3 separate regions of the Homo sapiens genome follow, and regions 1 and 2 are each linked to region 3. Evidence: promoter capture Hi-C in human tissues and cell types (Jung and others, 2019). All regions are on one chromosome and are shown on one strand. Each heading gives the region's core, a stretch centred on a gene start or on the middle of the fragment in contact. The rest is flanking DNA. Distances are from core to core; before and after follow the strand shown.

The links. The method cuts DNA at HindIII sites, captures the fragments that hold promoters and counts their contacts. A contact is called where the count stands out against the background at its distance.
Region 1: a contact is called between a fragment that was not itself captured here and the fragment with the promoter of MYO5A in region 3, in 1 of the 25 tissues and cell types used here (dorsolateral prefrontal cortex).
Region 2: a fragment that was not itself captured here is called in contact with the fragment with the promoter of MYO5A in region 3 in 1 of the 25 tissues and cell types used here (lymphoblastoid cells).

The regions. Positions count from the first base shown.
Region 1 is chr15:52,287,349-52,290,494 of GRCh38, reverse strand. All of the region lies in intron 1 of MYO5C (myosin VC), which reads left to right. Among named protein-coding and RNA genes, the nearest start is that of MYO5C, 6.9 kb to the left of the region's middle. The HindIII fragment of the contact is 3,492 bases long and covers 1-3,146 here.
Region 2 is chr15:52,669,432-52,672,738 of GRCh38, reverse strand. The region is part of intron 2 of ATOSA (atos homolog A); the gene reads left to right. Among named protein-coding and RNA genes, the nearest start is that of ATOSA, 8.3 kb to the left of the region's middle. RefSeq lists an enhancer at 646-1,147. The HindIII fragment of the contact is 4,747 bases long and covers 1-3,307 here.
Region 3 is chr15:52,526,574-52,530,129 of GRCh38, reverse strand. It overlaps MYO5A (myosin VA), which reads left to right and starts at 1,250. Exons shown (of 42, transcript NM_001382347.1): 1 at 1,250-1,350. The coding sequence starts at 1,324. RefSeq lists a silencer at 721-1,600. The HindIII fragment of the contact is 17,074 bases long and covers 1-3,556 here.

The sequences.
Region 1 (3,146 bases), core at 203-2,702, 240 kb after region 3:
TGAAACTCAGATGTGCAAGGTCAAAAGAAGTGTCTTGACTAGCAGTCCAGGGCCCCTGTCTAAAATGAGGTCAAAGTTCAGCGTAACGATTTTTTTTTTAATTTGGCTAATTCTAAATAGTTTTTAGACTTCTATATACCATTAACAACTCTGGAAAATTAAATGTATCCATTGTATTATGTATGGGTAGTTCAAAGAGAAAAAAAGGGATGAAAAGACTGAAATACTTAGTCTTTAATTGGTGCAACTGAACCACTGGGAATTTGAATTTTTGTTCAAAAGTTGTTTATGGAGTGCTAGTTATGGGAAGCCTTTGCATTGGATTCCAAGCACAAAGACCAGGCTCTTAAAGTTCAAATGCCAGTGGGGGAGATGGGAGGCAGCCTAGATACCTGGGGGAGGAGCAGAGAGCGCTCAAGGGAAGCATCCAGCTCTGCTAGATGGCAAGTGGCAAGGAGAGTGCCAAGATGAGGAGTGTCTCCAGCTACTCCAGACTGTTCAGAGCTGTTTGCTCTTGGATGGGGAGAGGATGGGTGGGGCTAGGGTGGAAGGAACAGAAGTACACAGCAGAAAGCCAAAGAAGGCCTGCCATGTTCCAGAAAGTGCTAGTGGTTTTGGGTGGCCACAGGCAGAGGGTGGATTGAAAAGAGGGTGAGGCCTGAGCAGGAAATTGGCCAGAATGCTGGTTGCCCAGGCCTGGCTCTTCCTCAAAACCCATGTGGGGGTTGATTTTCAAAGCTTTTCTCTTGCCGGGCCCCACCCACAGGAATTCCAATCAAGTACGGATGAGAGAGTCTGTCTGCCCAAAGAAACCTCGTGCTCAGCCTGGCTGAGGAAGCCTCCGGGGGCTGCTGCACCAGTCAAGAGAGGATTGGTGGGGGTAGGGTTGGGGGCTGACTTATGGCCATGGCAAGGGGGCTGGTAGGCAGGGGCGGACAGGAGAGGGCTTTTAAAAGGCAGTCTTTTCTAGCACCTGGTGACTGTTGGGCTGTTGGGGTGGAGACACAGAGGGGTGCCCAGCACTGTCCCAGGCTTCTGACATGAGGGGCAAGAGAGCTAGGAAGGAGGAGCGTCGGCATCACTGGAGTTTGGAATTTATGAGTCTATGAGGACATTTAGGGGCTGACATCTTGGAGGCAATTGGAAATGTGGTGTAGAGCTCCAGTGCACGATCTGGGTGGGAGGTCTCAGATGCACAGGTGCCAGGCAGTTGCAGAAGCTGTGGAATTGGGTGGAACTCTCCAGAAACAGCCTATCATGAGAAGAGGCTGGGAAGGACCTTGGGAGACACGGACATGGGGGGCAGTGGGAGGGGCAGGGGAGCCAGGGGAGGGGCCCATGAGGAGCGAATGAAGAGGAGGAGGAAGAGAGGGGCATGGTGTGACAATCTGGCCTGGCTGACCTGGAGTGTGGACACTCCCAGTCCAGAAAGCGGTTCTAGGAGGGAAACACATGTCGTCCCATCTTGTCCCATCTTCCATATAAGTCTTCAAGTCATTTCTGTGGCTCATGCCAGAAGATCCCTCAGAAAAGCAGGCGGCGTGAGAAGATGCTGTTCTCATCTCACCTGTGTGCCTTGGGGGGGTGGCTGGCATGGTCTTGAGCTCATAAGGTTCAGTGGTCCCGAGCCTCTGCCTCAGCTTGGCGCCTTGGCATGGGGAGGGCACTCAGGGAAGTTGGGAGGTGGCCCTCTCTTTCCTGGCTCCGCTGAAGGGCTTGGCGAGCTGTTCCATCCCAGTCCACAGACTCCTGCCTCATGGGAAGGCCCCATATTCTGGAGGTCAGTTGACAGCTGGTTACATTGTTTGCATGAACTGCGGACTGCATCTGTTTGGATGAATGCTGTAAAGTTAACTCTTCCTCCAGTTTGAAGCATTGCTTTGTGGGTAGAGGAATGTGAGGGAGGAGGGGACAGGAATGAATGGGTGGAACTTACCCGGAGCTGAGTAAACTCACCGTTGTTTACTTACCAGGCTGGGTTTCAGCTGCAGGGCACTCAATGCCAGCAGAAGCACCAGGATCGCAGGGTGTGGGCGGCCTGGGGTACTGGGCTGAGGAGTCACTGGTCTTCAGAAGAGAAGCCGTCAGTGGTTACGTATGTCCTAATACTGCCTGCCATTTAATACCACTTTTAGCTGAAACCAATCCTAAATTATAGTTAGGAGAGCACATGGACTCTCAAGTAGATGGTTGCAGTTCAGAGTTCAGGATTACTTTCAGGGCCAGATTCGCTTAACTAATACGGAGTTCAAACTAGGAGTCACAGGCCCTAGCTCTGCTGGAGTCCTGGTCCTTTGAGACTCTGTCTGCTGTTTGGTGAGTTATTTCTCTCTGGGCTTCAGTTAGGGGCTCTGTTAAACAAAAGGATTGATTGGCCTAGTGACTTTCACATTACTTCTCAGAGCCCAGGCTTCCTTGGAAGGCCCCCAGGGCTCTCAGCTCCAGCTCCCATCAGAACACCTCCACTTTCACCAGCTTCGCTTAGCCAGCTGTTACAACTTAATTTTTTTTTTTTTTTGAGACGGAGTTTCACGCATGTCACCCAGGCTGCAGTGCAATGGCAAGATCTTGCCTCACAGAAACCTCCGCCTCTCGGGTTCAAGCGATTCTCCTGCCTCAGCCTCCCAAGTAGCTGGGGTTAGAGGCATGCGCCACCACGCCCAGCTACTTTTGTATTTTTAGTAGAGACGGGGTTTCTCCATGTTGGTCAGGCTATTCTCAATCTCCCAATCTCAGGTGATCCACCCACCTCGGCCTCCCAAAGTGCTGGGATTACACACGTGAGCCACCGCGCCTGGCCAGAACTTCCTTTTGAAGTAGGCTTTCTGCAGCTCTAAAAAGGAGTTTGACAAACAACTTGGAGTAGATAATCAGTTCTGAGACTCTGTAGTGGCCAATTCTTGATAAATTTGGTAATTCATGTACAATTCTTTTGGGGGGCATATATTTTGATATTTGCCTTTAAAGATTAACATTCATTGTTCTGATTATGAAAGTAATAGGTACATATTGTAGAAAATACATCCAACTCTCAGGTGTCTCTTATGAGGATCCCATTCCTAATCCATTTTAATGAAGTAAGCTTCATGACGTTAGTAATAAATATTTTCAATAGCAGACCTGGGGTAGGAGCTGTGTAGCCCGTG
Region 2 (3,307 bases), core at 477-2,976, 140 kb before region 3:
AGGAGAGTGACTTAAAAATTGATTTTCTCTTCAAGAACTGAAGAAACCCATGGGGTCTGAGCCTTCTGCATTGTGAACAAATATAGAAAAAAATTAGTTGTTAAAGAATATTTATATTCTTTTGCCTTTCTCGCCTTTGGATCTAATTATGAAAATGTTTTCACCCTTTTTGAGGCTGGGGATTTTAAAAACTGGAAATATTAAACTCAGACTAACAATACTGGTTTTTTTTTTTTTGGATAATGAAAAGGCAAAATTGTAGTACTTGGAAACAGTACTTCTTAGTAGGTAAACCAAAGTCAATTTGTTAATAGTTAATTCTATCTTTGCTCAAATAGGTGAAAAATCAGAAGAGTTCCTCATGTTAGACTTTTTCTTTTTCTTTTTCATGGGATGGGGTCTTACTGTGTCACTCAGACTGGAGTACAGTGATGCAATCATAATTCACTGTAGCCTCCAACTCCTGGGATCAAGAGATCATCCTGCTTAAGCTTCCAGAGTAGCTGGGACTACAGGTGCACGCCACTATGCCTGGCTAATTGTCTTTTTTTTTTTTTTTTTTTTTTGAGAAATGGGGTCTCACTATGTTGCCCAGACTGTTCTCATTCTCCTGGGCTCAAGCAGCCCTCCTGGCTCAGCCTCTCAAAGTGCTGGGATTACAGGTGTGAGGAATTGCACCTGGCCCAGACTCTTATTAAAGTAAAACAGGATGGAATAGGTAAAAAATGCCAGCAGATAATCAAAATATTAGCCTAAGAGCCCATGTGTAATACCACAATTCCTAGCAATAATTTGAGTTGAGCTTTCTCATATTTTCCTTTCCATGTAAAAGATACTCATCTCTTCCCCTTGTTTACCATATCCAGCCCCACTAGCTGCCTTTTAGGTTTTTGATTACCACTTAGGATCTGGTATGCGAAATTCCTTCTGCCTAAAAAGCCTTTCTCCCCAGTCATCACATTGGTGTCTCCTTGTTGTTCTTTTGTTATAGAACTTAACCGTCATTTTTTCAGAGAGGTTTTCTCTCACTACCCTATCCAAAGTGCTCAGTGAATGTTAATTGCTGTCATTTATTAAATGAGATGTCCCTTGTTATTCTTTGTCTGAGCAGCCTGTATTTCCTTCATAGCATTGACCACATTTTGTAATTTCTTTTGTTTATTGTCTGTCTCTACAGCTAGATTTTAAGTTTTGTGAGTCCGGAAACCTTGTCTCTTATTCACACCTGTATTCCCATCATTTAGTAGGCAGTCTTGTACATGGTAGGTGCATAGGTGTTTAATACATATTTGTTAAATGAAAGAATGACTTGTATGTCTCAGTATTTGTGGAGCAGATAGGAATAGGAGCAGCTGGGTAGCAATATTTGATTGTTTTACTGATACCAGCTGAACTTCTGCCAATTTAGGGATTGGTTTGAATTAATGACTGTTAGGCTGTTATCACAATTTTATACTTAATTTTTTGAAAATACAGTTAAGGATACTATCCATAACTTAAATAAAGGTTATATTTCTTAATTAATCATATCTTATTGAATTAAAACACTATAAAATATCTTAAAAGTAGGCAAAAGCCATTTAGTGACAATGGTTTCCAGTTTATATACGTCTAACAAATGATTCATACACAGACATTTGCTAGAAGCTCTCTGATGTCCACCCCCTGTGCTGAATTTGCTCCTATTGCTGTTTCTGAGAGAGAGGGAGAATGTCTGTATGTTCAAATTGGTAAACCTCAGGTTTATGAATATAAGAAAGTACAAGTCGGATAGACTAATGGAAAAAAAACTCAAAGGATTTAGAGTTTAGATTTGGGACCCATTCTTGGATTAAGTCCCAAACCTGTTTACTTATCTGTAAGATGTAGCTGGCTAAGGGTGTTGCTTCTGAGCTTCAACTAAGATAATATGTCAAAGAACATAGTAAGCCATGAGATGCTATATAAATGTGGACTAATTTACTCTGTGGGCAGGATTATTTGTATAGATGTGCAAAGGGCCAGGTCTTCCCAAATACAGCCAGCTGCATCTTAGTTGGTGCTATTCACACAGTATGAGGATTTTATTACTTTTAGTTTCCTCTTGCTATCCTGACAGAAATTATACCAACTAGAGATTCACTTGGATTAATAAATGTATACTTAGTTATACATTTTTCGAGGACTGTTGAAATGATGGTCATATTTTAGTTTAAATGGTTTCCTTTTAGCAGCGTACTATAATGCAAGAAAAGTTAAGACACTAAGCTTTTAGGATCAAATTTGGATTGAAATTCTAACTTCGGAACTTACCAGCCAAATTACCTTGAAAAAATTACATAGCCTTTCTGAACAACGGTTTTGTTTTTTGCTCTAATACCGTCAACCTTAAGCCTTGTGGGAAAGGTAAACTGAGAACATATGGTTTGGCACTTAACATACGCCTAGCACTGGGTAGGGATTGCTAAATGGTTTCCTCTGCTAACAAGAATACACAGCTTGGAACAGCTGCACTGAGGAAATGAGTGTTTCAGAACTCCGTTTTGAAAACTGGTTGGAACAAGCATGAAAGATCAATGGACACTTATGTCACTGTCAACCTTGTCTTCTGAAATATACAATAACATAGAAAAAAGTCAAAACCAGCATTGAACTACCCAATCTTTAATGCAAATGCAATGGAGAGGGAAAGTAGGCAAATTGGAACACAGCCCACTATTTCTGGGTGATAGTAGACCCTAATGAACAGTTTAGAGCAGCATCAGGGCAGAGAGTGAGGCAGAGGTGGGAACTAGAAAGAGGCTGATGGAAAATAGAGTGGTGAGATGTTGCCCAAAACTGCTTTTTTCTTTGTTTCAGAGTATTACCTAGGATTGATTCAGTGCTTGGAGCATGGCCCTTCTGCTTCCATGACCCAGAATTTAGATTTGTTCCATGATGCTGCAAGATGGCCATTATAGGTTAAGAAACCTTTGGTAGACTCTTCTGGGAATCTAATCATAACTCATATTGCTTGTCAGTAATATTTAAGCCTAAATAATGGTCAGACTTAAACATATCCCCTTTGGGAACATGACCAATCTGTATTTGGGAATAAACAATATTTAAAGTTTTCATATTTTGGTTTCCCACTTAACCAAATGTATATTCCTGAATGGAATTAATTTAGCGTCAGTATCTGAAATTAGGCTATTTGTAAAACTTTATCCTAACATCTAGAAAGTGCATTTACATTTTTCATCAAATTAGCAATTTTCTTTTGTGAAGAGAGATCATGGTTTGTGAGAGAGATCATTGGCCATTTCTACTTAAATTTATAACAGTAAGA
Region 3 (3,556 bases), core at 1-2,500:
AGGCAGGGATTAAACAAACAAAAACAGCAACAACAACAACGACAACAATAAAGAATGAAGATTATTCAACCAGAAACGACAATGAGGGTGGGGAGAAGATAGAGGATGAAGACAGCGCAGGGTTGGGAGTAGAAAGACCACATTCTTGTGCTGGATGTTCAAGGATCACCGTGAGGAGAGTGAGGGCGGCTTTGCCCTTTTGATGTTGAGTTAAACTGTAATACAGATTTTCCATGTAAGTACTCCGTCATTTTCAGGTGGCAACCGGATAAACTTCAGGTGCCACCATGGAGCCGACAATCACCAGCAGCGAACAGGACGGGAAGAAGGCTGGGACAGAAGGGTAGTTGCATCTCCGCAAACGCACAGGTCTAGGAAAGAGGCACCTGGGCTGTCCCCGGGCTATCTCGTTTCAAAGTCACTTAAGTTTCTGTAGCTTAGAAGCGGCCCTTGCCCTCTGGTATCGGGAGACGACTTTGCTGCAGACATCGAGGTGCTCGGAATGACCTTGGTGATCAACCTTAACCTGAAATTCCCGGTCCTGCATTGCCCATCTCCCGGGTCACTGCTGCTGACAAGGCTCTTCTACAGTCCTGGGTTATTCTACAGTCTTTCAAGAGGGCTTCCCCTAAATCCTCTCCCTAGGAATGCTTGGAAGGACGGGAGGAGCAGCCTGGAGGCTCCCATCGTTTATTCGGACACAGTAACAGCCCGTGCCATGGCTGCGCTACCGCGGGAGCTAGGCTCCGCAGCAGAGGGCCCCGGGCTCGCTTCGGGGTGGGGGCGCCCGGGGTGTGCCGCGCCCTCGGGGCTCACGTCCCGGGCGGGTTTCCGGGCCTCGGCAGGGCGCGAGGCGGCGGCGGGGCCGGCTGGCAGGCTGATGATGATGATGCTCTGTGCTCGTAGCCGATGGGAGGCAGCGTGAGCCCGAGAGAGCCCAGAGCAGCCGCGGTGGCAGCGCTGGAGCGCAGCCTCCTCCCGCTCCCATAATGCACAGGGCGGCGGCGGTGGCGGCGGCGGCAGCGGAGGCAGCATCGCGGGCCGCCGAAGTGGCTGCGGCGGCGGCGGCGACCCCTAGGACCCCGGGCAGGTGGAGCGCTCGCGGCTGCTCGCGGCGAGCCCGGGAGTGATGGCGAGGCCCCTGCGGGCGGCCAGCGCCTGAGGCGCCCCGCCCCGCCCCGCCCCGCGCGGCCCTCCCCGCCCGGCCCTGCCCTGCCCTGCTCCCTGCCGGCGGCTGCGGGCGCTTCCTAGTCCGCTCGGGCGGCCGCCCAGGCGAGGTGCGGCCTCCGCACAGGCGGGGGGCGTAGGCGCGCGGGGCCCGCCATGGCTGCGTCGGAGCTCTACACAAAGGTAAGGCACCCCGCGGCCGGCGTCGAGGACTGGGGCTGTGCGGCCCTCGCCGCCAGCTGTCAGGCTGGGGAGGGGGCGGGAGCGCCGGGCCCAGGCGAGCCCCACCAGCGCCATCCCCTTCAGCGCCTCAGAACCCTCGGCCCTACCAGCCGGTCGCCCGCTGCGGCACCTTCCTCTTTCGGGCGAGATGGTGAAGGCGGCGGAAGGTGGCCCGCCTCGGGGGTCTCCCAGGCCCCTGCCGCGCTGCTCGAGCTGGGGGCAGAGCGGGCTTCGGAGTGGAAAGGGGGCCCATGTGGATTTAGCAGGGCGGGCGTGCCTCCCCTCCTGCTTGGCTTTGGAAAATTCCCGGCGGGTGGGAGATGCTTGCTCCAGTAGATCGGATGGGTTCTCTCGTGGGGACACGCGCTTAAAATAACGTCTTGTGTTGGTATGCAGTGCCGCTTCTACCGCCAGCTAGCCTTTCTGTGAGGTTATTTTGAATCCTGCAAACGGTGGCCGTATCACCTTTAGCTCCCCAGTTTAGCTGCGCTGGGGGTGGCGAGCCCCGGGGAAAGATGCTGCCGGATGAACGCGAGCTGATTCACCGGCTGGGAGGGTCGGTACTCATTTATCGCTGGGAGTTTGCAACCTGCGTGTAATCCCGCAGAGCCTTGTTAGGCTCCATGTCTTTACCATCCTCTGGGGCAAGCCTTTCCCTTCTGGGTTTGGTTTAAGGGAAGTGGCAGTCTTTTCTTAGACTGACATCAATATACTCAGGGTCTGGCGATCTCTGAATGACATATTATGGAGAACTGTCACTTGAGTGCTGCGCAGATTTGTGATGACCTTTGTGAATATATGTAATCATGGCATTTTATACTGTACACTCATGTGTAGGTAGATATTTTGCCAGATATTGATTACTTCTACATGCAGTTAATAGAGTTGCCTTTTCACATTAGCTTTTGCAACAGAACTTTCATTTAGGGTCCTGTAATCACTGGAATCATTGTTTCCAAATGTCACTGAAGTCCAGGGCCCAAGTTGCAGTGTGTTTTGTAGAGGAAAGAAGACTGGGCATCAAGAGACCTGGATTCAAGCCGGGACTTACTAACTGTGACCTTGGACAAGTCACTTAACATCTCTGGTTCGATTTCCTAATGAGTAAATGCAGTTAATTATACTTGCCTTGCATCCCTTACAAGCTGTTGTGAGAATCAAACTTAATAATCGTTGTGAAAGCTTTTTGTAACCTATGAATTTCTCTGCAAATATGAGATATATGATTAATTTCTTCAACCATGAAATGAGCTTGCATGAAACATTGTCTGAGACCTCTTTCTTTCTAGTTTTAGATTTAACGACTGTACAGTTGGAACTTCTCTCTCAACCTGGTAATTTCTTTAGGCATTGTAGATCTCTAACATATGAACGAATGCAATTGGAAACTGATTAAAAGTAACTTAAACACTTAATATGGTGCTTGCTATGTGCCAGGTACTGTTTTAAGCGTTTTAAAAATATGAACTCATAATCCTCATAAGGAACTTATGAGGTCGATATTAAGAAATATCAAAATCATTTTCACATGAAGAGATAATCAGTCTGTAAACATTCCTTGGTTACTTTGTGTAGCCCATCCCCTCCACTTCTACATCAAGTTTGTCCAACCCGCAGCCCATGGGCCGCATGTGGGCCCAGGACGGCTTTGAATGTGCCCCAACACAAATTCATAAACTTTCTTAAAACATGGGTTGTTGTGTTTTTTTTGCAATTTTTTTTTTAGCTCATCATTTATCATTAGTGTATTTTATGTGTGGCCAAAGAAAATTCTTCTTCCAGTGTGGCCCAGGGAAGCCAAAAGATTGGACACCCTCCGTTCTATATGGTGAGCAGTCATCTTTGAGTCACCTAATAGTAGGCTGCTTAACTAGAGACTGAGTGGATAATAAATTGTTGTTGGATTTCGAATGCTTTTTTCCCCCAGGATAATTTGGGAGAAAAAATTGAAAAGATGTTGTGATTTGTAAATGGTAAAGTTTTGGGCTTCTGTCACAGCTTTATCACAATCTATTTTAAAATTTACCTTTTAACAGCCTGAGGAACATAATGAGACCTGGTCTCTACAAAAAAATTAAAAAGTTAGGCTGGGCACGGTAGCTCACGCCTGTAATCCCAACACGTTGCCGAGGTGGGTGAATCACCTGAGGTCAGGAGTTCGAGACCA